Linked DNA regions of Homo sapiens: all the other regions are linked to region 4. The links are contacts of gene promoters, found by promoter capture Hi-C in human tissues and cell types (Jung and others, 2019). All regions are on one chromosome and are shown on one strand. The core of a region is centred on a gene start or on the middle of the fragment in contact, and the rest is flanking DNA. Distances in the headings are between cores, read along the strand shown. Region 1 has its middle 250 kb from the start of VLDLR. Region 2 overlaps PUM3 (pumilio RNA binding family member 3). Region 3 overlaps LOC101930053 (a long non-coding RNA gene). Region 4 holds the start of VLDLR (very low density lipoprotein receptor). Region 5 overlaps LOC101930053 (a long non-coding RNA gene). Region 6 overlaps PUM3 (pumilio RNA binding family member 3). Region 7 overlaps LOC101930053 (a long non-coding RNA gene).

The links. The method cuts DNA at HindIII sites, captures the fragments that hold promoters and counts their contacts. A contact is called where the count stands out against the background at its distance.
Region 1: a fragment that was not itself captured here is called in contact with the fragment with the promoter of VLDLR in region 4 in 2 of the 25 tissues and cell types used here (IMR-90 fibroblasts and heart left ventricle).
Region 2: a fragment that was not itself captured here is called in contact with the fragment with the promoter of VLDLR in region 4 in 1 of the 25 tissues and cell types used here (mesenchymal stem cells).
Region 3: a contact is called between a fragment that was not itself captured here and the fragment with the promoter of VLDLR in region 4, in 4 of the 25 tissues and cell types used here (heart left ventricle, lymphoblastoid cells, mesendoderm cells and 1 more).
Region 5: a fragment that was not itself captured here is called in contact with the fragment with the promoter of VLDLR in region 4 in 2 of the 25 tissues and cell types used here (heart right ventricle and ovary).
Region 6: a fragment that was not itself captured here is called in contact with the fragment with the promoter of VLDLR in region 4 in 1 of the 25 tissues and cell types used here (dorsolateral prefrontal cortex).
Region 7: a contact is called between a fragment that was not itself captured here and the fragment with the promoter of VLDLR in region 4, in 4 of the 25 tissues and cell types used here (aorta, dorsolateral prefrontal cortex, mesendoderm cells and 1 more).

What each region holds. Positions count from the first base shown.
Region 1 is chr9:2,372,309-2,376,251 of GRCh38, forward strand. No RefSeq gene overlaps it. Among named protein-coding and RNA genes, the nearest start is that of VLDLR, 250 kb to the right of the region's middle. The HindIII fragment of the contact is 5,218 bases long and covers 1-3,943 here.
Region 2 is chr9:2,818,475-2,822,360 of GRCh38, forward strand. PUM3 (pumilio RNA binding family member 3) reads right to left here. Exons shown (of 18, transcript NM_014878.5): 13 at 1,544-1,624. Among named protein-coding and RNA genes, the nearest start is that of PUM3, 24 kb to the right of the region's middle. The HindIII fragment of the contact is 3,005 bases long and covers 556-3,560 here.
Region 3 is chr9:2,425,077-2,429,012 of GRCh38, forward strand. LOC101930053 (a long non-coding RNA gene) reads right to left here. Exons shown (of 6, transcript XR_001746603.2): 4 at 321-464. The region is part of intron 2 of LOC105375956 (a long non-coding RNA gene); the gene reads left to right. Among named protein-coding and RNA genes, the nearest start is that of VLDLR, 190 kb to the right of the region's middle. The HindIII fragment of the contact is 5,833 bases long and covers 1-3,936 here.
Region 4 is chr9:2,620,082-2,623,967 of GRCh38, forward strand. VLDLR (very low density lipoprotein receptor) reads left to right here and starts at 1,706. Exons shown (of 19, transcript NM_003383.5): 1 at 1,706-2,190. The coding sequence starts at 2,109. It overlaps VLDLR-AS1 (VLDLR antisense RNA 1), which reads right to left and starts at 2,292. Exons shown (of 4, transcript NR_015375.2): 1 at 2,019-2,292. RefSeq lists an enhancer at 1,248-1,542 and silencers at 1,421-1,500, 2,111-2,380, 2,651-2,740, 2,751-2,840. The HindIII fragment of the contact is 11,914 bases long and covers 1-3,886 here.
Region 5 is chr9:2,399,875-2,404,039 of GRCh38, forward strand. The region is part of intron 5 of LOC101930053 (a long non-coding RNA gene); the gene reads right to left. Among named protein-coding and RNA genes, the nearest start is that of VLDLR, 220 kb to the right of the region's middle. The HindIII fragment of the contact is 3,278 bases long and covers 1,149-4,165 here.
Region 6 is chr9:2,834,700-2,838,530 of GRCh38, forward strand. It overlaps PUM3 (pumilio RNA binding family member 3), which reads right to left. Exons shown (of 18, transcript NM_014878.5): 2 at 3,727-3,818; 3 at 2,481-2,702. The coding sequence starts at 3,808. Among named protein-coding and RNA genes, the nearest start is that of PUM3, 7.5 kb to the right of the region's middle. The HindIII fragment of the contact is 7,995 bases long and covers 1-3,831 here.
Region 7 is chr9:2,443,693-2,447,799 of GRCh38, forward strand. All of the region lies in intron 3 of LOC101930053 (a long non-coding RNA gene), which reads right to left. Among named protein-coding and RNA genes, the nearest start is that of VLDLR, 180 kb to the right of the region's middle. The HindIII fragment of the contact is 8,299 bases long and covers 1-4,107 here.

The DNA of each region.
Region 1 (3,943 bases), core at 461-2,960, 250 kb before region 4:
AAAGACCTCTATAAGAAAAACTACAAAACACTGATGAAAGAAGTTGAAGAGCATATAAAGAAAATACTCATAAACTGAATCCAGCAGCACATCAAAAAGCTAATCCATCTTGATCAAGTAAGCTTTATCTCTGGGATGCAAGGTTGGTTCAACAAATGTAAATCAATAAATGTGATTCATCACATAAATAGAACTAAAGACAAAAACCACATGATTATCTCGATGCAAAAAAGACTTTCGATAAAATTCAACATCTCTTCCTGTTAAAAACTCTTAATAAACTAGGTATTGAAGGAATATACCTCAAAATAAAAGCCATCTATGACAAACCCACATCCAACATTATGCTTACTGGGCAAAAGCTGGAAGCATTCCCCTTTAAAACTGACATAAGACAAGGATGCCCTCTCTTACCACTCCTATTCAACATAGTATTGGAAGTCCTGGCCAGAGCAACAGGCAGGAGAAAGAAATATAGGGCATCTGAAGAGAAAAAGAGGAAGTCAAACTATCCCTCTTTGCTGATGACATGATCCTATATCTAGAAAACCTCATAGTCTCAGCTCAAACGATCCTTCAGCTGATAAACAACTTTAACAAAGTCTCAGGATACAAAATCGATACACAAAAATCACTAGCATTTCTGTACACCAACAACAGCCAAGCCAAGAGCCAAATCAGGAATACAATCCCACTCACAACTGCCACAAAAAGAATAAAATACCTAGGAATACAGCTAGCCAGGGAAGTAAAAGATGTCTACAATGAAAATTACAAAACATTGTTCAAAGAAATCAGCAATGACACAAACAAACAGAACAACATTCCAAGCTCACGGATAGGAAGAATGAGTATCATTAAAATGGTCATACTGCCTAAAGCAATTTACAGATTTAACGCTATTCCTATCAAACTATCAATGACATTCTTCACAGAACTAGAAAAAACTATTTTAAAATTCATACAGAACTGAAAAAGAGCCTGAATAGTCAAGGCAATCCTAAACAAAAGAAGAAAGCTGGAGGCGTCACGTTACCTGACTTCAAACTATTAATATACTGCAGGGCTACGGTAACCAAAACACCATGGTACTGGTACAAAAACAGACGCCTAGACCAATGGAACAGAATGGGGAGCCCAGAAATAAGTTCAATATTACCGATTTTTAGAGAAATGCAAATGAAAACCACAATGAGATACTATCTCACATCAGTCAGAATGGCTGTTATTAAAAAGTCAAGAAATAACAGATGCTGACAAGTTTGCAGAGAATAATGAATGTGCATACACTGTTGGTGGGAGTCTAAATTAGTTCAACCATAGTGAAAAGTAGTGTGGTGATACTTCAAAGAGCTAAAAACAGAACTACCATTCTACCCAACAATCTCACTCCTGGGTATATCACCAATGGAATATACATTATTGTAGCATAAAGACACATGAAAACATATGTTCATTGCAGCACTACTCAAAATAGCAAAGACATGGAATCAACCTAAATGTCCATCAACAGCAGATTGGATAAAGAGAATGTGGTACATATATGCCATGGAATACTATGCAGCCATAAAAAGAATGAGATCATGTCCTTTGTAGGAACGTGGATAGAGCTAGAGACTATTTCCTTAGCAAACTAATTTAGGAACAAAAAATCAAATACACGTGTTTTCATTTAAAGTGGGAGCTAAATGATGAGAACACATGGACATAAAAAGGGGAACAACAGACATTGGGACCTACTTGAAGGTAGAGGGTGGGAAGAGGAAGGGTATCAGAAAAACTAACTATCCAGTGCTAGGCTTAGTACCTGGGTGATGAAATAATCTGTACAACAAACCCCTGTGACATAAATTTACCTGTACAACAAACCCGCACTTGTACTCCTGAACCTAAAATAAAAGCTTGAAAATATAAAATAAATAAATAAATAATATAAAAGAAATTGAAGAGGACAAAAGCAAGTAGAAGGACATCTCTTGCTCATGAATCAGAAGAATTAATGTTAAAATGACCATACTACTCAAAGCAATCTACAGATTCAATGCAATCCCTATCCAAATACCAATGACATCTTTCACGGCAATAGAAAAATATAACTCTAAAATTTGTGTGGAACCACAGCACCTTGAATAGCCAAAGCAGTCCTGAGCAAAAAGAACAAAGCCGGAGGTATCACACTTCCATACCTCAAAATATACGATAAAGCTGTAGTAATCAAAACAGCATAGTACTAGACTAAAAACACACACATAGAATAATAGAATAGAACAGAGAGCCCAGAGATAAATTTATGCACCTCCAGCCAACTGGTTTTTGATAAGACCACCAAGAACACACATTGTAGAAAGGACAGTCTCATCAATAAATGGTGCTGGGAAAACTGGATGTCTATGTGCAGAATAATAAAACTAGAACACCAGCTCTCACCCTATACAAAAATCAACTTAAGATGTATCAGAGACCTGAAACAATAAAACTACTAAAAGAAAACATAGGGAAAACGCTTTAGGACACTAGTCTGGGGAAATATTTTATGATTAATGCCTCAAAAACTCAGGCAACAAAGGCAAAATAAACCAATGGGATTATATCAAACTAAAACCTCTGCACAGCAAGAAAACAATCAACAATCAACAAAGACAATCTACAGAATGGGAGAAAATATTTGCAGACTATTCATTTGACAGGGTATTGATGCCCAGAATATATAAGGAACTCAAACAGAACTCAACAGAAAAAAAATCCCAAACAATACAATTAAAAAATGGACAAACCATCTGAATAAACATTTCTCAAAAGACATACAAATGGCCAACAAGTATATTAAAAATGCTCAACATCACTAATCATCAGGAAAGTGCAATCAAAACTACTACGAAAGAACATCTCACCCCAGTGATGTTTAGTATCAAAAAGACAAAAAATAACAAATGCTGCCCAGGGTGCAGAGAAATGCAAAGGCTTATACACTGTTGATGGAAATGCTAACTAATGCAATTACTGTGGAGAATATGGAGAACAGTATGGGAGTGTCTCGAAAAACTACAAGTAATTCTACCATATAATCTAGTAATCTCACCACTTAGAATTTATCCAAAGGAAAGAAAATCATAATATTGAAGAGATATCTGCCCTCCCATGTTTATTGCAGCAGCAGCACTACTCACAATAGCCAAGTTATGGAAGCAACCTAGATGTCTAACAAGAGAAAAATGGATAAAGAAAATGTGATATATACACAATAAAATACTATTCAGTCATAAAAAATGAGTGAAATCCTGCCATTTGCATCAACATGGATGGAGCTAGAGGACATCATATTAGTGGAATAAGTCAGGAACAGAAAGATAAACACTGAATATTCTCACTCCTATGTGGAAGCTAAAATAAGTTGATCCCAGAAGTAAAAAGTAAAGAAGAGGATACTAGAGGCTGGGAAGGGTAAGGAGAAGGGAGGGATAGGGAGAGATCTGTTAAAGCAGGGCTTCCCAACCTTTTTGGCACCAGGTACTGGTTTTGGGGACAACAGTTTTCCACAGATGGTGGGTGGGGGATGGTTTCAGGATGAAACTGTTCCACCTCAGATCATCAGGCATTAGATTCTCATAAGGCACACACAACCAAGATCCCTTGCATGCGCAGTTCATAATAGGGGTTGGCTTCTATGGGAATCTAATACCACCACTGATCTGACAGGGTGGAGGTCTGTTGGTAATGCTTGCTCACCCACTGCTCACCTCCTGTGTGAAGCCCGGTTCCTAACAGGCCACGGATTGGTACCAGTCAGTGGCCCAGGGGGTGGGGACCCCTATTTAAGGACAGAAAATGACAACTAGATAAAAAGAATGCGTTCTACGCCACTGTAGGATGACTATAGTCAACATAATATATGTTTTCAAACAGCTAGGACGATAGGAGGATATTGCATATTTCCAGCAGAAAT
Region 2 (3,886 bases), core at 808-3,307, 200 kb after region 4:
CATTTGGAACAGCTATGCACATTTTAGTTGTCGTGAAAATATTAAACAAAAGCAAACTTTCAATATCCCAGCCTGTTTCCATTTCTGTGAAACAACTTTATTCATCAGCCAATTCTATGGCCTCACATCTCTGTCACAAGAATGAAAAACAATCATTATTGATTGGAGTCAAAAGGGTAATAAAGTCACAAGGAACATGTCAAAATACTCAGTTTGTAACATGAAAGTCTTGCCAACTTGTTTCTTCCCACAATCCTATCCCAAAGAAAGTCATCACAATCTTAAAACAGTCAAGGGTAAAGTTGGAAAATGACAGCAAGGGCATGAGAAATTCACACACACTGGGACCTACGGCTGGCATCTAAGAAAACAATCTTCCCCTCCACTAGCTGGTATACTTTTTCTACTACACTCAGCTCTACTGATCCCAGGAGGCTACAAAGAGAGACCACAACACCACCACCTGACAACAGGTAAATTCTCTTTTTGAATCATCATATTCTTCTTTCTTGCAGATGTGAAAGTACCACATGTCATCACTAAGATTTCTCCAAGGGTCCCATTTATGTATATCAAACAGAAAGGCTTGTGTAATTTTCAGATGAATAACCTATGTCTATACAGATTATGTGGTTTTCCAGACGTTTCCAAGTTTGGTCACTACTATCAAACTAGTATTTTCTTATCCCCACCCTGCTGCAACCTCTACCATATACTCAACACCACTCATACACTAAAAACAAAAGAAAAGACAATTGTAGAATCAGAAAAAGAGACTATTGATGCAGAATGAAGAAAACACATAGTTTAGAATGCAATTTTTACTTTGGAGTACTTCCCCTAAGAGGACAATTGGTTTTTCTGAAGGCAACGTTAGCGATAAATACACTACATTCAAGTATTACCACTTTATGGCCACTACACTGGACTAGAAGGAATTTCTGAAATGTCAAAAGGAAGCTAGAGTTTTAATTTTAGTAATAACTTTTAATCTGACCCTACAAAAGCTCTAAGAAGCATCACAACTGAGTGAGTTTTGTACATTTCTCTTCTCCATCAGCTCAATCCAGCACAGATGCATTGATTAACTGGGTAACTGTGCAGAGGTAATTATTTCTCCACAGGGAGAGAGATAATTTAATAGGTCACAGATACTCTCTGCTTGTATTTGAGTTCTGGAATAACTAAGGAATTACTATGCTAGTTTCTGATCATATCTAAATATCACTTTGCTAATTTTCCATAGTTTAGAATCACGTATGTTCTAAAGTACCATGTTATCCTAATCCAAAATAAAAGTGTTAAATCTTAATTTGACCAGTCTTAAATATTTAAAACAGTATTAATATCAAGTTACAAGGTTAAGATTTACACAGGAATAAAACAAACCTCCAAAATAAAACATAATTAACTTAAAAGTAAGCAAAAATACTGATAGAAGGCACAGCTGCAAGTCTTTACACATGCATGGTGAAATCAAGCTTACACATCCACAACTGGTTTATCGATGTAACTTAAATTCAAGACCATCAGGATTACTTACTGATATGATTATCTGCTTCACAAGCTTAGTATCATCAATACAATCAAATGCCGCCAGTAAAACCAAATGGGAGTATTGGCCCTGCAAGAATTGGAAGCCAGCAAAGGTTAAAAACAAGTGCATAGATCTTCCCTCTTATTTCACACATGGAATATCTTCATAAAGGTAGAGCGAGACTCCGCTCAAAAAAAAAAAAAAAAAAAGATTACCTACATTGACAACTTGTCTAACATAACAAGATGAATAAAAGCCATTTTAATGAACTTCCTCTCTTATCACGACCTCATTAATTATATTCTAGAGGTAAGGTTGATTTTTTTTTAAAGCACATTATTCATTACCAAATAGTCTAAAACTAATACCTATTTACATAGGTTACTGTTAATGAATAGCTACTTGAAAATTATACTTAAAAGTTCAAGTTATAAGATTAACTTCAAAAAACCTACATATATAAACACATATATGATACTCCAATCATGAAAAAGAAAATATAAACTCATACAATTTTACACACATACACACACACACACGATATACATAATACATGTACACAGAAAATCCTGGAAGGCAAGGCATTGTAATAGTCATCTCTGGGTTATACAAATGATTTTTAATTTTCTTTTCTATATTGCTCAATTTCTTTAAAGTGATCTCACAAAATTAGAATATAAATATGAAAAAATAAACTAGAAGAGTATAATTATACACTGAATGAGAATGATATAAAAATCATTACTTTAAAAAAAGTATAGCTGCATGAGATCACAGAAATACACATGTGGCTTTCACAACACTCATCTTTTGAAATAAAATTATTTCCATGATGCTAATACTGTTCCAAACATTTAAAGAACACCTACTTTATGTTAAGAACAAAAACAAAAGAAAACAAAAACCTGTTTCCAGAGCTTGTGGCATGAGTATCCTGGATGTTGATATAATTGTTTCAAACTCTGATAGGAATTTGATTTTTGATAATAGCCCACAATCATTCAGAGCCAGATCTGATAAATATCACAGATAATACAATTTCAATTAGAAACAATAACGAAGTTGCTAACTGTAAAGTCAAAAAGACAAACTGAAGACAAACAACAAAGGTCTTACTATACAAAGACCAACAACCAACTAAAAATGGGCAAAGCCAGGTGCGGTAGCTCACGCCTGTAATCCCAGCACTTTGGAAAGCTGAGGCTGGTGGATCACGAGGTCAGGAGATCGAGACCATCCTGGCTAACAGGGTGAAACCCCATCTCTACTACTAATACAAAACATTAGCTGGGCATGGTGGTGGGCGCCTGTAGTCCCAGCTACTCAGGAGGCTGAGGCAGGAGAATGGCGTGAACCTGGGAGGCGGAGCTTGCAGTGAGCCCAGATCGCGCCACGGCACTCCAGCCTGGGCGACAGAGCAAGACTCTGTCTCAAAAAAAAAAAAAAAAAAAGAACATGAAGAGTCAGATCACACTAAAACAGAAGTACAAATGTCTTTAAATGTATGAAATAATGCTTTATGAACTAATTAAGGACAATAATTAAAACAATGAAATGCCATTTATCCTATGGGTGATGGTGAAAACCTCTGACAATAGACTAATTTATCAAAGGTTTAGGGAAAAGCAGGCACGCTTTTATGTTGATGAGAATGTAAAGTGGTTCAACTTCTTTGAAGAGCAATTGACAACACCTATACAAATTTAAAATGCAGGTATGAGCTGATCCAGTGATTCTAGTTCTAGGGATTTATCTTGCAGACGTGTTTCCATGTAAGTACAAAGACTTACATATGAATATATTCACTGGGGTACTAATTGTAATTTTAAAAACTCTAGAAACTACCAAAATGCCCAACAGTGGGGACTGGTTAAATAAATTATGGTATAGGCACACGATGAAATATTACAGTCACTAAGAAAAGTGAGGTAGACAGATGTATGTATATTGAAATAAAATGACCCATAATATGAATTAAGTGAAGGAGACAAAATATAGAACAACGTGCCTAGTACAAAATCACTGGTTTCAGTTCTCTTAACTCGGACACACATAAGCATAACCAAGCATAAAATATTTCTAGGTGAATACAACAGAAGGTGGTACAGAATTGAATGTAAGTGAGAAACAGACAAATCCACAAGTATAGTTGGAAATTTTAACATGTTTCTCTCAGCAACTGATAGAACTAGAAAATAATAAGTCAGTAAAAACACTGATGGTATGAACACTGTCAACTACTTTGATCTAATTGACAAATATAGAATACCCCACCAAACAACTCTACAATATATTATTTTCAAAATACTTAGACCATATGTTAGGCCATAAAACAGGTCTCAGTAAATT
Region 3 (3,936 bases), core at 693-3,192, 190 kb before region 4:
TTCAGAATTTACATAAGAGAGAAATAAGGTGCGATCTCAATCTGGGGAAGAAAGTTAAGGAGGTGATTGGAGGAGGACTCTGTGGAGGATGTGGCTTTGTTCAACACATCCGTAGACACTGGTTTTACAAGGCCACGATCGATATGCTACTGATATATAATAGATGATATGATTGATATGATACAATATGATTTAATGTAATACAGTAGTATAGCAATTCAATATAATGATACCAGTAACTAAAATTCATTGATCATTCACTGTGTGATTAACACAATGCAATGAATTATCCTTACAGGACTACTCATAATCATACTTACAGGCAAGTTTCATTATAATCCACAGGCTGAGCAAAGTCACTCTGTTAAACGGTGGACTCAGGACTCAGGACTGCAGGGCTCTCTGCCTCTAGAACCCTCCTCTTCACCATTTTGCTATTTTGCTTCCATTTGTCTCTTTCCTACCTGGGTGTTAATGCATATAGTAGTGAAAAGGCCAAGTGGTGACTACAGACAAAGACACTAAGCAAGGTTAAGTGAAAAACAGCTCATTGGGATAAATATTTCACTGGCTAGAAAAAACGAAAGAAATAACACCAAAAAGTTATTTTAAATGTTCAGAGAACAAAAGAGTTAAAAGTTTCTTGTTTTAAAGAGTTCAAGAAAGTAAAAAACATAAGAGGAAATACAGTTTTGATAGGAATTATATAAACAGATGAACTTCTTTCTCCATCATAGAATGCATGAACATTTATGTGTGTATTATGGAGATTTTGCAATGCCCTTGTGGTTTTTTTGGCAGTCATTCTCTAGCCTATATAGTTCACTCTTTTTCTAACTAACTCAAACACTCACTTTATTCTTTCATTCATTCATTTACCTAGTCATCCGTCAGATGTTTATTCAGTCTCTTCCACGCACTGGGTACCAAGGAGGATAATGGAAGCTTAAGAATAAAGAGACACTGTCTCCTGCCTTAAATGGGATGGAATTTAGTATGCTCAAAAGGCAATTTTCCCCTTCAGATCCCCCTCAGACTCACTCCATTGCCTGTGAATGGTCCTGTGCAATAGAGAGAACTCCTTTAGCCCTCTGGCATGTGGTATCGCCGTACTGCAGGGAGTTGCCTATCTCTGATTTAGGACTGGAAGTGGAGGTTCAGAAGATGAGAAAATGTGGAGAACAGAGGACAGTAGATATGTTCCCTGTCTGTCTGATTGAAGCGAATTCTGGTTCAGGAACCCCCTGGGAAGTTCTATGACTTCAATATCCTATGGGATTTTGAAAACATCAAAGCTTCCTGGAATTGATCAACCCATCTTGGTTCCTTAAGATTTCCCTTCCACCTACTGGGAGGCACTAAGCTAAGGGTAGGGTAGGTACATGGGGCAATGTTTATTTCCGGCCCCACTCTAGAGCTAACCTCTGCTACTGGATGCCTGAAACCACATGCCTGATTGTAGCCTTTGGCTTGACTCAAGAATCCTAATGAACCTCTCCAGCACATTTCTCTGTGTACTGGAGAACCAGTGATGAACACTATTCTTGAAACATCGCTAGAATTGTCCATACTTCTTTTCTGTATGACACCTCTTTTCATTTGGTTGTTTTCTTTTAAATTTTATTTTGCTAAAATTCATAGTGAGGTAGGTTTACATTCTCACAAAATATAATACAGGCAATCAAGAGATAGTCTAGGAGCCTCTCTTAAGGCTCCTATTACACACAGCCCCCAAGTACTGGGACCCCTTCAGACCATCTCATTTTTAGGAGGTGTTCCCAATCACTAACAATGGCCTGTGTCAAAATGCCTCCCCATAGTGATAGCCAACGTCCTGAGCAGGTGTCTATGTCTCAGGCAGCTGGTCTCTGTAAGGGGTATCCAATTATGATGAGGCTCCAGGAAGACGTATATGGGTGTAATGAGAAGGATGACGGAATGGGACCCAGGAGACACCCCACAACCACTATCACCAAAGCCTGGACATTTGTTCCTGCCCATTTCTATGCCCATATTTCCTCCTTTGCAAAATAAATAGTTCAGACTAGAAGAGGCCTCAGGTGCTATCGAGCTTAGACGATTTATGACCTTCTGAGTACTGTAAGTGTTACCTGCTTTGGCAGTTTGCACTAAGAATCGGACTTTAGAGATTTGGCACACTCTGATGTTTGTTCAGTTGGTAAGTGTGCTCAGTTTTTGTGGCATGTGTCTACAAAGCACAAAAGCCTTGGTTTCTCTGGACTTCTGAAGTGCAAGAGATTGATAGCAATCCCAGCCCATTCCCAGGGAGAGACGCAGAAACAACTCTGTGAAAGGTTACTTTGGTCTCTATGGGAACCACTCTGTGCCCTTGACAGAGAAGACAGCTTGGGGAAGGGAGGCACATCCGAGAGCTCTGAAGCCTGGGCAGAATGCCCCATGGGCCCACAATGCCACATACCTGTGAATGGAGAGAAGGGAACAGGCAGTCCCAGTGTGCATATTTGGAATCCAAAGTCCTATTTGACCTTAGATATTTGGAAGTAGGTGGGACCTGGAAATGCTAACACCCAGAGGCCGTGCAGTGTAGTGGAAAGAGAACTGGCTTTGGAATCAGAGGTTCTGGTTTGACTCTCAGCTCTGCCCTTACTAGCTACGTGACTTGGAGAAGGTCTCCTAACCCTGCTGAGTGTGGGTTTTCTTGTCTGTCCAGTGAGAAGCATTAGGTCTTTCCTGATGATCTCATAGGGCTGATGTTTCTGGTTACTTTTCCTGCACACAGTGTACAACCCCCGCCCCCCGTGATGCGTCAGTCACAGTCTAACAACAATATTAAGGAAGGATAATGATAAAGTTAATTTTTGTGGAGAATATAACATTGATGATATTGCTACCCACTGTTGCATTCTTAATATGTACTAGGCACTCTGATAAGGACTTCAGAAACATTAATTCATCACCTGAGATCACATGGTTGGTAAATCACATGGCAGAACTAAACTCAGACGCTCTGACTCCAGAGCCAAGGTCTTAACCCAGTGCGTGGTTCATCCCTCCTAAGCCAACAACCAGATTTCTTCCAGTCCTGGCTTGTAGAGAGTGAGAAAGATGTGCTGGCTTGTCTACTCACATATTAACAAACAAACAAACAAACAAATAATTAAGCAAATCAGTCAAATCCTTTAAAAGAGTCAAACACAGCAACTTTGGAAAATCATATGTTAAAAGATATTTATGGATCAGATTAAATAAATAAATAAATGTATGAAAAAAATGTGATTCTATTTTCACTAATGGTTAACCAACATTGCTTATTGCCTATGTATGACCTTTTCTTTGGCTTGTATCAAACAGGTATTTGTCCCACCCATCCACCCAGCTAAAAAACAAGCAAAAAAAAGTACTGAACATCTTCTCTGTACCAAATATCCATGAAGTGCTCAGATTTAATGGTGATTGAGGTGTTTCTGCCCTCAAGCATCAGTCTAACCAAAGATACAGACAGAAAATTCAGTAGAGTATGACAGTGCTTTGATAGGGAAATGAACAGGGTACTAAGGACAGACAGAAAATAAGAAGTTAATTCAGTCTGAATATGTCAGAGAAAACTTCCCAGAAAAGGTGACAGCTAGGTTGAGTGGGAGTCAAACTGTTGGTAGGAAGGCACATGGAGAGGAGAGAAGGGGAAGGACATTTGGGAAGTGGGAGTGTCTTATGTGATGGACAAGAGGCAAGAGAAGTGTGACCCACTCAGAGAGCCAAAAGAAGTTCACAGTGGCTGAAACACAGAGTCTAAGGACTGGAGAGGTGACAGCTGAAACACAGGCCATATCATGCAGGGCCACATAGAGTTTTGAATTTTATTGTAATCACACTGAGAATTAATTGAAGGGTTCAAGCCAGGGCCTAAGGAGTGGGTCATAATCCCATTTGTGTGTTAGGAAGATGATTCCGGCT
Region 4 (3,886 bases), core at 456-2,955:
CATGCACTAAGGTTTTCCTATCACATCTCAATGCCATTAGGTGAATAACACCGGCATGCATCTTCACTACTAAATGTCATACAAACAAATTTCAGTTGTTTCACATGCAACCTGTGTGGCTGCTGCAGTTTGTATCAACTATGTAACCACAGGGTGGGCAAAATAGCATTCAAAATGAGCTATAGTGCAAGATACCATCCATACGTAGAGTTAAGCCCTTTCATGCTTAGCAGTCACAATCAGGATATCTTTGGCCCACAGAAACCTATCCTGACTGGAATTTTCCTCTCCTGTGTGTCTCCTGGATATAGTAAGTTCCTAATAAACATCTCCTCTGATTGCTAGCCTTGACAAATTTCCAGGAGAACCAGGGCAAGGAGAAGACAGTGAGGCAGTGCCCGCTGCTCTTCAGATCACCAACAGAATAGAGTCAGAATATGATATTATTGAAACCTTCCAAGTTTGAATTAAGATAAAAACAACTTTTTCAAAATACCAAAAACCTTTTATTTAAGAAAGTGAAATCGCTCGATGTGCCCTCCCACTCTGGTTAGATGCTCAACAGACCACAGCAGACAATGCACCTCAACCAGGGCTAAGTGTGCAAGAAAACTGAAGTACACAAAAAGCAAATTATAGACTCAGGTACTGTCAGGCACAAAAGAAGAACCAACCCTTTCTAGGAGTCTTGTCTTTGCTTCCTTTATTCTTTCCTCGATTCTTGTAATTGAATGTTACAAAGTATATCAAGAGGAATAAACGTATGGGGCCCCTCTCTTCCAAACAAGAAAAGGTTAAGCTTTTAATTACAGGCCCTCAAACTATCATTTTGTGCAATTAGCAATTAACTATAATCGTTGATGAGCAAATGCAAAGCTGCGCTAGCAATTTCCCTTCTCCTCATCCCAGGCTGGGTTATTTCAGTCTTGTTCTATTACAGAGGACCAGCCACAACCGCGCGCACTCTCTTTCAAACATACACACTCTCTCACTTAAAGACACATTTAGTTTTCGGCAAAACGGCATCTCAGCGTGCGATTGAGACCGGCATCCCAAACCCCACTTTTGAGCAGCCCAAACGTTTGGAGCCCCTCCGCTTCATCACTTTCTGAGTGGATAGAGGAGGCCCGAAGAAGATGCTACCTACCAGCCTCTCTCAGGGGCGCAGGAGAGGGTGGTAGAGAGATGCTTGTTGCCCCTGGAAACTGCAAGTACCCCCCAGGTGCACGCCCCGTCAGTGGGGAGGCGGTGGCAACAGCAACGATAGTTGCATCAGCGCTAACTGCTGCTGCTGCTGCGTGTTCTGCCGGAGGCTGCCGGGAGGGTACAGTAATGACTGTAGGGAGCGCACAGCCGCTGCGGCGGCAGGTTCCCTGGATCAGGAAATTAGGACAGGCACCCGGGATTGGAGGCGAGGGCGGCGCGCGAGCCAACCAGCGGTCGCCCCGGGCCCCCGTGAGCCCCAGGCGAACGCGCGGAGCAGCCGGGCCCCTAGAGCGGTCCGGGTGGCGGCGGCGGCAGCCACGACCACGACCGCGGTCACTCACGCACGCTCACACTCGCACGCTCCCCGCGCGGGCACCCGGCTGCCCGGCGCGTGCAAGAGGAGCGCGTCGAGGGAAAGGAGGGCCGAAGCCGCCGCGCTCCCGCCCGCCCGCCGCGCCTCCCGTTGACCACGCCCCCTCCGGCCCCCTCCCCGCTGCTCACCCCGCTCTCCGGCCGCCGCCGGTGCGGGTGCTCCGCTACCGGCTCCTCTCCGTTCTGTGCTCTCTTCTGCTCTCGGCTCCCCACCCCCTCTCCCTTCCCTCCTCTCCCCTTGCCTCCCCTCCTCTGCAGCGCCTGCATTATTTTCTGCCCGCAGGCTCGGCTTGCACTGCTGCTGCAGCCCGGGGAGGTGGCTGGGTGGGTGGGGAGGAGACTGTGCAAGTTGTAGGGGAGGGGGTGCCCTCTTCTTCCCCGCTCCCTTCCCCCGCCAACTCCTTCCCCTCCTTCTCCCCCTTTCCCCTCCCCGCCCCCACCTTCTTCCTCCTTTCGGAAGGACTGGTAACTTGTCGTGCGGAGCGAACGGCGGCGGCGGCGGCGGCGGCGGCACCATCCAGGCGGGCACCATGGGCACGTCCGCGCTCTGGGCGCTCTGGCTGCTGCTCGCGCTGTGCTGGGCGCCCCGGGAGAGCGGCGCCACCGGAACCGGTGAGTGAGGACGCGCCCCTCCGCCGGCGGGCGGGACCCAGCCGGGGCACCGGGAGACCCCGAGGCGTAGGTCTCCGTTTGCCCACCCGCCTCCTAGGAGGCGCCTCTCGGTTCTCCTCGCCTTCCCTCCCTCCCCTCCGTGGTGGCGCCTCTGAGCTGTCAGCGCCGAGGCTAAAGGGAGCCGGGCTTGGGGAACAGCGGGGTTCGGGGTGCCCCGACGCCTCGCCTGAACTAGTCTTCTGCCCCTCACTCCGCCTCCCCCAGAGCCGCTGCTTCGCCTCGTTTCTCGCCCTCTTGACGGGCGCCGAGGTGCGTGGGCTTCTGAGCATTGAACAATGGTTCTGCCTCCTCTGCCAGGCGCAGTGTTGGGAAGGAGGCAGAGGGCCAAGACGTGTGCGGCAGCCTCGGGCGCACCCTCGAACCCCGGGGAGTGCGGGAGCGGACGGGGGGAGAAGGTGAGCGCCTCCGGGGACGCGGAGCGCCAGGGGCCGGCCGGGCTTCAGAGTCTTCCGGCGGCCGCGAGCTGGCGCACGTTCGGTGGGCGGCGGCCGGGAGGCTCCGCGGAGCCGAGGGCACCCGGACTGCGACTCCCCCGGCGCGGGGCCGCCTCTCCGGCGTGCGGGGTAGGGGAGCGGCGGGGCTTTACGCAGGACTCTGCTCTGGGCGCTTCTCCTCTCCCTTTTCCCCGCCTCGGGCGGCGTTTGGAAACCGCTCGGGTCTCCCGTGTAGCTGAACGCGGAGGGGGAGTGGAGGGGAGACTTAATCAGGTTAGTTTGCTGACCCTCCTTCCCGGTGACGTTTCCTCGAGAGGAATTGAGTCCTAGGCTAGTGACTGTAATTAGCCTTCATTCTACACAATAGCTCAAAGGAGCAGCGCGAGAGCGAGCGTGTGGCCCTGTCTTGTTGGGAAGGGCGGCGGTGACTACTGTCGGGTCCCCAGACTCTGCCGCGGGGGCCTGGGGGCCCCGCCTGGTCGTCAGCCACGTTCCCACTTGGGGCCTCGTAACTTTCCTGGACAGGCGACAGGAAGCCTTTCTGAGAGGACTCAGTCGGAATCCTAGCGCGTCCCCGAAGTGATCTTCAGATGTGACGCCGAGGGGCTTGCTTGCCAGCTGCAGGGAATTGGGACTGAAAGCCGCCCAGGCCCTTAACACCCGTTCCAGAGTCCCTGGCTCCCGTCGCCGGGTGGCTTCAGGGGCCCTGCCGGCCTGCAGTCACGTGCTCCTGAAGTGAGAGCGAACTTTAAAGCATGTGGTCAAGGAGCCTGTCGGGCAGCGCCTGGGGTTTTTACGTCTCCGAATGCCCCTGCCCTTTGGTTGCCACTGTCCGGAGCGTGTGAACTGGGACTGGCCTTTCCGCCCTCTGCGATTGGTTAGCGGTGCGATCACGTTTAGGTTGGTCACATGGTTCCGCGGACTCTTAAGTGGGCAGCATGGGCAGTGTTATTTTCAATGGAAAGTAGGAGACTCCACAGGCTCTTACGGGCTGTTCTCTCAAATGCCTTCCCCTGCCTGGACTCTTTGAAGAGGACGAATGTGTAGTGAACATGGAATCTGATGTGTAACAAGCCTGAGAGCCTAGAAAAGCTCTGCTTACAAGAGTTTCCAAACGCTAGCATTAATCATTAATAGATGAGTAATACTAACTTATTAAACGATTTCTCAGTATAGTGCCATGACTTGCATTATGCCTTTTG
Region 5 (4,165 bases), core at 1,538-4,037, 220 kb before region 4:
TATATTCCATCAATACCTAGTTTATTGAGTGTTTATAGCATGAAAGAGTATTAAATTTTATCAAAAACTTTTTCTGCATCTACTGAGATAATCGTGGTTTTGGTCACTGGTTCTGTTTATGTGATAGATTACATTTATTGATTTGCGTATGTTGTACCAGCCTTATATCCCATGGATGAAGCAGACTTGATCGTGGTGGATAAGCTTTTTAATGTACTGCTGGATTCAGTTTGCCAGTATTTTACTGAGGATTTTCGCATCAATGTTCATCAGGGATATTGGCCTGAAATTTTGTTGTTGTTGTTGTGTCTCTGCCAGGTTTTGGTATCAGGATGATGCTGGCCTCATAAACTGAATTAGAGAGGATTCCCTCTTTTTCTATTGTTTGGAATAGTTTCAGAAGAAATGGTACCATCTCCTCTCTGTACCTCTGGTAAAATTCGGCTGTGAATCCATCTGGTCCCGGGCTTTTTTTTGGTTGGTAGGCTACTAACTACTGCCTCAATTTCAGAACTTGTTATTGGTCTATTCAGGGATTCAACTTCTTCCTGGTTTAGTCTTGGGAGGGTGTATGTGTCCAGGAATTTATCCATTTCTTCTAGATTTTCTAGTTTATTTGCATAGAGGTGTTTATAGTATTCTCTGATAGTAGTTTGTATTTCTGTAGGATCAGTGGTGATATCCCCTTTATCATTTTTTATTGTGTCTATTTGATTCTTCTCTCTTTTCTTCTTTATTATTCTGGCTGTTGGTCTATACACTTTGTTATTGTTTTCAAAAAACCAGCTGCTGGATTCATTGATTTTTAAAAGGGATTTCCGTGTCTGTGTCTCCTTCAGTTCTGCTCTGATATTAGTTATTTCTTGTCTTCTGCTAGCTTTTGAATTGTTTGCTCTTGCTTCTCTAGCTCTTTTAATTGTGATGTTAGGGTGTCGATTTTAGATCTTTTCTGCTTTCTCTTGTGGGCATTTAGTGCTATAAATTTCCCTCTAAACACTGCTTATCTGTGTTCCAGAGATGCTGGTACATTGTGCCTTTGTTCTCATTGGTTTCAAAAAACTTATTTGTTTCTGCCTTAAATATGTTATTTACCCAGTAGTCATTCAGGAGCAGGTTGTTCAGTTTCTATGTAGTTGTGCGGTTTTGAGTGAGTTTCTTAATCCTGAGTTCTAATTTGATTGCACTGTGGTGTGAGAGACTGTTTGTTATGATTTTCATTCTTTTTCATTTGCTGAGGAGTGTTTTATTTCCAATTATGTGGTCAATTTTAGAATAAGTGTGATGTGGTGCTGAGAAGAATGTATATTCTGTTGATTTGCGGTGGAGAGTTCTATAGATGTCTATTAGGTCCACTTGGTCCAGAGCTGAGTTGAAGTCCTGAATATCCTTGTTAATTTTCTCTCTCATTGATCTGTCTAATATTGACAGTGAGGTGTTAAAGTTTCCCACTAAGATTGTGTGGGAGTCTAAGTCTCTTTGCAGGTCTCTAAGAACTTGCTTTATGAATCTGGGTGCTCCTGTATTGGGTGCATATATATTTAGGATAGTTACCTCTTCTTGTTACATTGATCCCTTTACCATTATATAATGCCCTTCTTCGTCTTTTTTGATTTTTGTTGATTTAAAGTCTGTTTATCAGAGACTAGGATTGCAACCCCTGCTTTTTCTTCTTTCCATTTGCTTGGTAAATCTTCCTCCATCCCTTTATTTTGAGCCTATGTGTGTCTTTGCACGTGAGCTGGTTCTCCTGAATACAGCAAACCGATGGGTCTTGACTCTTTATCAAATTTGCCAGTGTGTCCCTTTTAATGGGGGCATTTAGCCCACTTACATTTAACATTAATATTGTTATACATGAATTTGATCCTGTCATTATGATGCTAGCTGGTTATTTTGCCCATTAGTTGATGCAATTTCTTCATAGTGTCGACGGTCTTTACATTTTGGTTTGTTTTTGCAGTGGCTGGTACTGGTTGTTCCTTTCTATATTTAGTACTTCCTTTAAAAGCTCTTGTAAGGCAGGCCTAGTGGTGACAAAATCTCTCAGCATTTGCTCGTCCATAAAGAATTTTATTTCCCATCACTTATGAAGCTTAGTTTGGCTGGATATCAAATTCTGGGTTGAACATTCTTTTCTTTAAGAATGTTGAATATTGGCCCCCACTTTCTTCTGGCTTGAGGGTTTCTGCAGAGAGATCCACTGTTAGTCTGATGGGCTTCCCTTTGTGGGTAACCCAACCTTTCTCTCTGGCTGTCCTTAACATTTTCTCCTTTATTTCAACCTTTGTGAATCTGTTAATTATGTCTTGGGGTTGCTTTTCCTGAATTTGAATGTTGGTCTGTCTTGCTAGGTTTGGGAAGTTCTCCTGCATAAAATCCTGAAGTGTGTTTTCCAACTTGTTTCTATTCTCCTTGTCACTTTCAGGTACACCAATCAATTGTAGGTTTGGTCTTTTCACATAGTCCTATATTTCTTGGAGGCTTTGTTCATTTCTTTTCATTCTTTTTTCTCTAATCTTGTCTTCATACTTTAAGTTGATCTTCAGTCTCTGGTATCTTCAATCGATCTACTGTTTGATCGATTTGGCTATTGATACTTGTGTATGCTTCATGAAGTTTTCGTGCTGTGTTTTTCAGTTCCATCAGGTCACTTATGTCCTTTTCTAAACTGGTTATTCTAGTTAGCAATTCCTCTAACCTTTTATCAGGATTGTTAGCTTACTTGCATTGGGTTACAACATGCTCCTTTAGCTTGAAGGAGTTTGTTATTACCCACATTCTGGAGCCTATTTCTGTCAATTCATCAAACTCATTCTCTGTCTAGTTTTGTTCCCTTGCTGGCAAAGAGTTGTGATCCTTTGGAGAAGAAGAGGCATTATGGTTTTTGGCATTTTCAGGCTTTTTGCACTGTTTTCTCCTCATCTTTGTGGATTTATCTACCTTTGGTTTTTGCTCTTGGTGACCTTTGGATGGAGTTTTTGCATGGTCATCCTTTTTGTTGATGTTGATGCTATTGCTTTCTATTGTTAGTTTTTCTCCTAGCAGTCAGGCCCCTCTTTGCAGGTCTGCTGGAGTTTTCTGGGGGTCCACTCCAGAACCTGTTTGCCTGGGTATCACCAGAAGAGGCTGCAGAATAGCAAAGATTGCTGCCTGTTCCTTCCTCTGGAAGCTTCGTCCCAGAGGTCACCCGCCAGATACCAGCTGGAGCGCTCCTGTATGAGGTGTCTGTTGACCTCTGCTGGGAGGTGTCTCCCCATCAGGAGGCATGGGGGTCAGGGACCCACTTGAGGAGGCAGTCTGTCCCTTAGCAGAGTTCAAGCACTGTGCTGGGAGAACCGCTGCTGTCTTCAGAGCTGGCAGGCAGGAATGTTTAAGTCTGCTGAAGCTCTACCCACAGCCATCCCTTCCTCCAGGTGCTCTGTCCCAGGGAGATGGGAGTTTTATCTATAAGCCCCTGACTGGGGCTGCTCCCTTTCTTTCAGAGATGCCCTGCCTAGAGAGGAGGAATCTGGAGAGCATTTTTTTTTTTTTTTGATGGAGTCTCACTCTGTCACCCACACTGGGGTGCAGTGGTGCAATCTCAGCTCACTGCAACCTCCACCTCCCAGGTCCAAGCAATTTTCCCACCTCAGCCTCCCAAGTAGCTGGGATTACAGGCACCTGCCATCATGCCTGGTTAATTTTTATATTTTCATAGAAATGGAATTTCACCATGTTGGCCAGGCTGGTCTTAAACCCCTGACCTCAGGTGATCTGCCTCCCTCAGCCTCCCAAACTGCTGGGATTATAGGCGTGAACCACTGTCCCCAGCTGAGAAGTGATCTTGAGATCTTGCCTAATCTCAGAGCTTAGCACATGGCTTTGCTCATCTACAGATTCCAAACAGCAGTATTACCTAGTGAGAGAAGACAATCTGTAACTCTGCTCAGAGGCAATCACAAAACTTAGCTAATAGCTCTGCCTAACTACAGAGTCCAGCCAGTGATCTCATCAAACTCTAGAGCACAGCCAGCATTTCCATTTGACCTCAAAGCGGTCAGCAGTACAGCCCAGCTAGAGAATCTGACAGCAAGGCCTGCCTGCCAGGACTTGCCACCAGCTGGGCCATCCAGAATCCCAGGCTAGACTAAACAGTGAAGGTTTATTGCTACTGAAGAAAATTAGC
Region 6 (3,831 bases), core at 1,301-3,800, 220 kb after region 4:
TGAGGCCACACAACCTGCAATGGTAGAATTAGGACTCAAACCTAGAAACAACCCTCTGCTGTCTTAGTCATGACAATGAACAACCAAAATTTCCAAGTTCGCCACAAACAGAGTGATACTATAAAAGTCGAATATCTATCACCACTTTTTTGTCTTCAAAATCCAAGTAACTTACCAATTGAACTAATGATGCCAAACAAAGAACAACTTACTAAAATGGGTATTATTTACATGAGTATCTGGCACAGAATCTTTTGGGGGAATTAGTCACTTCTAACTATCTCCCTGTCTCTATAAAAAACTGGGAAAAATGCAAAAAAAAAAAAAAAGAAAAGAAAAACCCTGTAAAACCAAAACCTAGCTATAGCCACTGATAATTTTCCCCTTGCTTCTTCTCCATACATGTTTTAATCTTTAAAAACTCAAAAAGTGGCCAGCTGCAGTGGCTCACGCCTATAATCCTAGCACTTTGGAAGGCTGAAGAAGAAGAATCATTTGAGGCCAGGAGTTTGAGATCAGCCTGGGCGAAATAGTGAGACCCCGTCTCCACAAAAAATTAAATTAAAAAATTAGCCGGGTGTGGTGGTACATGCCTGCAGTCCCAGCTACTTGGGAGGCTGAGGCAGGAGGATCACTTGAGTCCAGGAGGTTGAGGATGCAGTGAGCCATCATCACGCCATTGCACTTCACAGTCTGGGCAACAAAGTGAGACCCTCAAAAAAGAAAAAAATTCAGAATCTGCCTTCACTCAATATGATTAGATTATGTTTGCTCATGAAATTAACATTCCTCAAGAACATAATTTTTAATGGCTATCCAATATACTACAATGTATTTATTATTCCTTTATTGTTTACTTATATATTCATTCCCTGTCTGGTAATACAAAAGATTATAGGCAACAGAGGGCATATTTACCATTATATTAATATGGTATCCTCTACTATACAATAGAGGATAGGAACTGATCCAGGGCTAATTTAATTCCATAAATATTTGGGTACCCTTGACATATGTCATGCTAGGCTGCAGTACATTTATCAGTGTGGGGGTTGTCTAGTAACCAATCTCTCATGTTATTTTATCAGTCTAGTTACTGATACAAAAATATGAGAAAATGAAATCCAGAGTCCCATTTTGAGATATCAGGAACATATCTCCCATAGCAAAAGAAATCATAACTTTCCTCATATCAATGTGAGAAATTAATGTATATGTGTTTAAAATGCAGGCATCAAAAACTCCAGTAGAGAAAGAAAGATTTGGGATCTAGTAGAGAGGTTAGGAAAGAGAAAGTAGAAAAGAGAGCTGGAAGAGAAACTTCTGGCAATTGGGGAGGAGGAAGATGAGGGAGAAAGAAAAAATGAAAAGAGAAGATCAAGACTGGAGCATGAAAAGATCCTGGAGCCCTAATGGGAAACGATGGCATTTCCCCTCCTTCCTCTCTCCCTACCTCCTTGTCTTAAGGCTGCTGTCCCTCTGGTAAGCAGCCCTTAGGCAGGGTAAAAAGCAAGCACCAGGACTAGGGGATGGCACTGAGAAAACCATCCCCAGTGGTCTCAGCTGGCAACAAAGGAGCAGTGTTAAGACACGCTGTGCTGGAGAAAAAGAGAATAAAAGGCACCAGAAAAATTCTCAGGATGTTGCAAAGAAAGTAATGATATGACAATCCACATAACCTGGAAACTGCTTGTTTGAGATCAGTGCAGGACAAAGCACGACAGCGGAATGTTATAAAATAGAGAGCAAAGTTCTGGGTTAGAAATGACCCACTGAACATCGTTGACAGAGATGGGCAGTTTGTTTCAACAGACAAGCACGAGACCTGCCAATACTTCCAATCAGTGAGCAACTTGTCCTGAATCAATTAAAATCAAATCTGTCATGTGTGCACAACACCTTCTCTGGAACTACTATGGATCTGCGCCATCAGAGGGATTTATTGTATTAGACTGGCCTAAGCTCTGTGAAGGCAGGGTCTCTATGTTTCTTGCTCACCAAAGCATCCTTAACCAAGGCTGACACTTAGCTGGGGACAGACTGATTCTTTAAAGCCAGATTCTATGATTAGTTGGGGCCTGTATCCTTACTGATTATTTTTGTGTGTGTGCGTGTGTGTGTGTGTGTTTTGCCCTATCTCCTGGTACAATGCATAGAAAACTCAAATACTCGTTCGATGAACGAATAAATTTTAGCTTATAAAAAGAAATGTTTTATTGAGGTTCCACTGTATAAAGCCATTATAATTTAACTTAACTCCATGGCTAAGGTAATTCAGAAAAGGGCTAAGAAATAAGAAACTCTAAGCACCAGAGGAAAATTGTGAGCATGAAAGATGCTTTGTTGTTTATTTAAGCCACCTACCTGTCCCAAAATGTTACCTGCCAAGGAATAAGAATGTGAGGTTTCTAACGCACCTCCAGAGTCCCTGTGCACAATCGTTCAGGCACTAGTTCAGGCATGAACGAACCAGTACTTACCATCGCTTCTACCATCTGGCTGGAATTTTCTCTTCTTGTTGAATTTATTTGCCGGCTGGAATTTGTTCTTTGGTGATTTGTCCCCTTGCTGCTTATTCTTGAACTGCTTTACACCCTTTTTCCCAAGTTTTGTGATACTTTTCTCAAAGTTCCTAGATGTGACTTTAGGTCCACCTTCTTTAGCAACTTTCCTTGTTGGAAATGTCTTTGAAGAACCAGAATCTAGTGACAATAATAATTATAAGTTCAATGATTCTGGGCCCAAATCTCTTTTATCTATTGGATTATATCCATTACAGAAAATTATACTTTTTAATCCCAATACCATGTCTTACTCTCAAATATGCAACATATAGCCTTTTGAGTAGAACTGGATTTAAACAATCAAAACAAAAATAAAAAATTCTTTCCTTGATTATAAAACCACCTAGAGAGTAGAGAAATGTAAAATAAAAGCTACCCATGATTCTACCACTAAAGATAAACACTGGTGTCAGTTTGGTATGTTTCTCTAGTTTTAAGCATATAGCAGAGCTATTATTTATATACCTTTGTATTCTGCTTTAATGATGGTCTACACAGAATTTTCAAGAGTTCAATAACAAAAGAAGTCTTAAGAAATGACTTCTTGAACATTCTTGAAATTTGGAAAGTATATCATAAGGACATCTAAAATGTTAATTTTAAAATTTTCTAGTTTTAAGAAAATTTTAAAGCCTATATTAAAATTATTTATCAAAAACTTTTGATCAAGAAGGCTTACAAATTAGTACCTAACAAATGAGATGCAAACAGTAATGGCTAACATTAAGGAAACATTAATCATTTGTATAGTCCCTTGACTTTTCTGTTTTACAATACTGACACCTGATGGAATAATAAAGACATCACCATTATAAATTCTGAACCTAAACGTATTTGGCTTATGAGCAGTATGTATTAAACAGTCCTAATTTATCAAATGTTAAAATAAAATGTATGGTGAACTAGTGTGAATAAAATGAGGCAACAGCAGCAACAACTGAGATAAGGAGTCTTTCATGAATAAGGCATTCCTCAATCATTCTTGCAATTTCTTAAGTGTCTAAATGTCATGAGCAACATGTTAACTCATACACAATAACACATACTTCTTCCTACTATTTTAATCCTAATCCTAGCCAATGAATACAGATTGAAATTTACTACATGCCCTCCCATCCCCCAATTATAACAGCCAAACACCCACATGGGAAGCATATCTTACCACTATTTTTATGAAATCTGTTTTTTTCTTGTGCTGTCTTTGTACTCTTTCCTGTGAATTGCTTTTTCCCTTTAACTTCCATCGTAGCAACTCTGGAAAACCAAA
Region 7 (4,107 bases), core at 1,033-3,532, 180 kb before region 4:
GTTTGCTTAAGATAATGGCTTCCAGCTCCATTCATGTCCCTAGAAAGGACATGATCTTTTTCCTTTGTATGGCTGCGTGGTATTCCATGGTGTATGTGTACCACATTTTCTTTATTCAGTCTATTACTGATGGGCATTTAGGTAGATTCCATGTCTTTTTCATTGTGAATAGTGCAATGAATATACATGTCCATATATTTTCATAACAGAATAATTTATATTTCTTTGGGTATATACCCAGTAATGGGATTGCTAAGTCAAATGATATTTCTGGTTCTAGGTCTTTGAGGAATTGCCACACTGTCTTCCACAATGATTGAACTAATTTACATTTCCACCAACAGTGTAAAAGCATTCCTATCCCTTCATGGCCTGGAGAGCTTTTGTTGCTTCTTGATTTTTCAATAACTGCCATTCTGACTGACATGAGATGGTATCTCACTGTGGTTTTGATTTGCATTTCTCTAACAATCAGTGACGCTGAGCTTGTTTCATATGTTTTTTGGCTGCATAAATGTCTTCTTTTGAGAAGTGTCTGTTCATGTCCTATGCCCACTTTTTAATGGGGTTGTTAATTATTACTTAATATATAATTTTATGTCTTTTAAAGGAGCTGAGAGAGGAAAAGAAAGCAAGCATATCAACAGAATATACATTCTTCACAGCACCACACCGCACCTAATCAAAAATTGACCACATAGTTGGAAGTAAAGCACTCCTCAGCAAATGTAAAAGAACAGAAATTATAGCAAACTATCTCTCAGACCACAGTGCAATCAAACTAGAACTCAGGATTAAGAAACTCACTGCAAACTGCTCAACTACATGGAAACTGAACAACCTGCTCCTGAATGACTACTGGGTACATAACGAAATGAAGGCAGAAATAAAGATGTTCTTTGAAACCAATGAGAACAAAGACAAAACATACCAGAATCTCTGGGACGCATTCAAAGCACTAAATGCCAACAAGAGAAAGCAGGAAAGATCTAAAATTGAAACCCTAACATCACAATTAAAAAAACCAGAGAAGCAAGAGCAAGCACATTCAAAAACTAGCAGAAAGCAAGAAATAACTAAGATCAGAGCAGAACTGAAGGAAATAGAGACAAAAAAACCCTTCAAAAATTCAATGAATCTAGGAGCTGGTTTTTTGAAAAGATCAACAAAATTGATAGACTGCTAGCAAGACTAATAAAGAAGAAAAGAGAAGAATCAAATAGACGCAATAAAAAATGATAAAGGGGATATCACCACCGATCCCACAGAAATACAAACTACCATCAGAGAATACTATAAACACCTCTATGCAAGTAAACTAGAAAATCTAGAAGAAATAGATAAATTCCTCGACACATACACCCTCCCAAGACTAAACCAGCAAGAAGTTGAATCTCTGAATAGAGCAATAACAGGCTCTGAAATTGAGGCAATAATTAGTAGCTTACCAACCAAAAAAAGTCCAGGACCAGATGGATTCACAGCCAAATTCTACCAGAGGTACAAGGAGGAGCTGGTACCATTCCTTCTGAAACTATTCCAATCAATAGAAAAAGAAGGAATCCTCCCTAACTCATTTTATGAGGCCAGCATCATCCTGATACCAAAGCCTGGCAGAGACACAACAAAAAAAGAGAATTTTAGACCAATATCCCTGATGTGTTCATCAGGGATATTGTTGTTTCGATGCAAAAATCTTCAATAAAATACTGGCAAACCGAATCCAGCAGCACATCAAAAAGCTTATCCACCATGATCAAGTGGGCTTCATCCCTGGGCTGCAAGGCTGGTTCAACATATGCAAATCAATAAAAATAATCCAGCATATAAACAGAACCAACGACAAAAACCATATGATTATCTCAATAGATGCAGAAAAGGCCTTTGACAAAATTCAACAACGCTTCATGCTAAAAACTCTCAATAAATTAGGTATTGATGGTACGTATCTCAAAATAATAAGAGGTATCTATGACAAACCCACAGCCAATATCATACTGAATGGGCAAAAACTGGAAGCATTCCCTTTGAAAATGGGCACAAGACAGGGATGCCCTCTCTCACCACTCCTATTCAACATAGTGTTGGAAGTTCTGGCCAGGGCAATCAGGCAGGAGAAGGAAATAAAGGGTATTTTTTTTTCAATTAGGAAAAGAGGAAGTCAAATTGTCCCTGTTTGCAGATGACATGATTGTATATCTAGAAAACCCCATTGTCTCAGCCCAAAATCTCCTTGAGCTGATAGGCAACTTCAGCAAAGTCTCAGGATATAAAATCAATGTGCAAAAATCACAAGCATTCTTATACACCAATAACAGACACACAGAGAGCCAAATCATGAGTGAACTCCCATTCGCAATTGCTTCAAAGAGAATAAAATACCCAGGAATCCAACTTACAGGGGATGTGAAGGACCTCTTCAAGGAGAACTACAAACCACTGCTCAATGAAATAAAAGAGGATACAAACAAATGGAAGAACATTCCATGCTCATGGGTAGGAAGAATCAATATCGTGAAAATGGCCATACTGCCCAAGGTAATTTGTAGATTCGATGCCATCCCCATCAAGCTACCAATGACTTTCTTCACAGAATTGGAAAAAACTACTTTAAAGTTCATATGGAACCAAAAAAGAGCCTGCATGGCCAAGTCAATCCTAAGCCAAAAGAATAAAGCTGGAAGCATTGCGCTACCTGACTTCAAACTATACTACAAGGCTACAGTAACCAAAACAGCATGGTACTGGTACCAAAACAGAGATATAGACCAATGGAACAGAACAGAGCCCTCAGAAATAATGCTGCTTATCTACAACCATCTGATCTTTGACAAACCTGACAAAAACAAGAAATGGGGATACAATTCCCTATTTAATAAATGGTGCTGGGAATACTGGCTAGCCATATGTAGAAAGCTGAAACTGGATCCCTTCCTTATACAAAAATTAATTCAAGATGGATTAAATACTTAAATGCTAGACCTGAAACCATAAAAGCCCTAGAAGAAAATCTAGGCAATACCATTCAGGACACAGGCATGGGCAAGAACTTCATGTCTAAAACACCAAAAGCAATGGCAACAAAAGCCAAAATTGACAAATGGGATCTAATTAAACTAAAGAGCTTCTGCACAGCAAAAGAAACTACCATCAGAGTGAATAGGCAACCTACCACGAATGGGAGAAAATATTTGCAATCTACTCATCTGACAAAGGGCTAATATCCAGAATCCACAATGAGCTCAAATAAATTTACAAGAAAAAATCAAACAACCCCATCAAAAAGTGGGCAAAGTATATGAACAGACACTTCTCAAAAGAAGACATTTATGCAGCCAAAAGACACATGAAAAAATGCTCATCATCACTGGCCATCAGAGAAATGCAAATCAAAACCACAATGAGATACCATCTCACACCAGTTAGAAAGGCTATCATTAAAAAGTCAGGAAACAACAGGTGCTGGAGAGGATGTGGAGAAATAGGAACACTTTTACACTGTTGGTGGGACTGTAAACTAGTTCAACCATTGTGGAAGTCAGTGTGGCGCTTCCTTAGGGATCTAGAACTAGAAATACCATTTGACCCAGCCATCCCATTACTGGGTATATACCGAAAGGATTATAAATCATACTGCTATAAAGACACATGCACACGTATGTTTACTGTGGCACTATTCACAATAGCAAAGACTTAGAACTAAGCCAAATGTCCAACAATGATAGACTGGATTAAGAAAATGTGGCACATGTACACCATGGAATACTATGCAGCCATAACAAATGATGAGTTCATGTCCTTTATAGGGACATGGATGAAGCTGGAAACCATCATTCTCAGCAAACTATCGCAAGGGCAAAAAACCAAACACCGCATGTTCTCACTCATAGGTGGGAATTGAACAATGAGAACACATGGACACAAGAAGGGGAACATCACACACCAGGGCCTGTTGTGGGGTGGGGGGAGGGGGGAGGGATAGCATTAGGAGATATACCTAATGTTAAATGACGAGTTAATGGGTGCAGGACACCAACGTGGCACATGTATACATATGTAACTAACCTGCACGTTGTGCACATGTACCCTAAAACTTAAAGTATAATA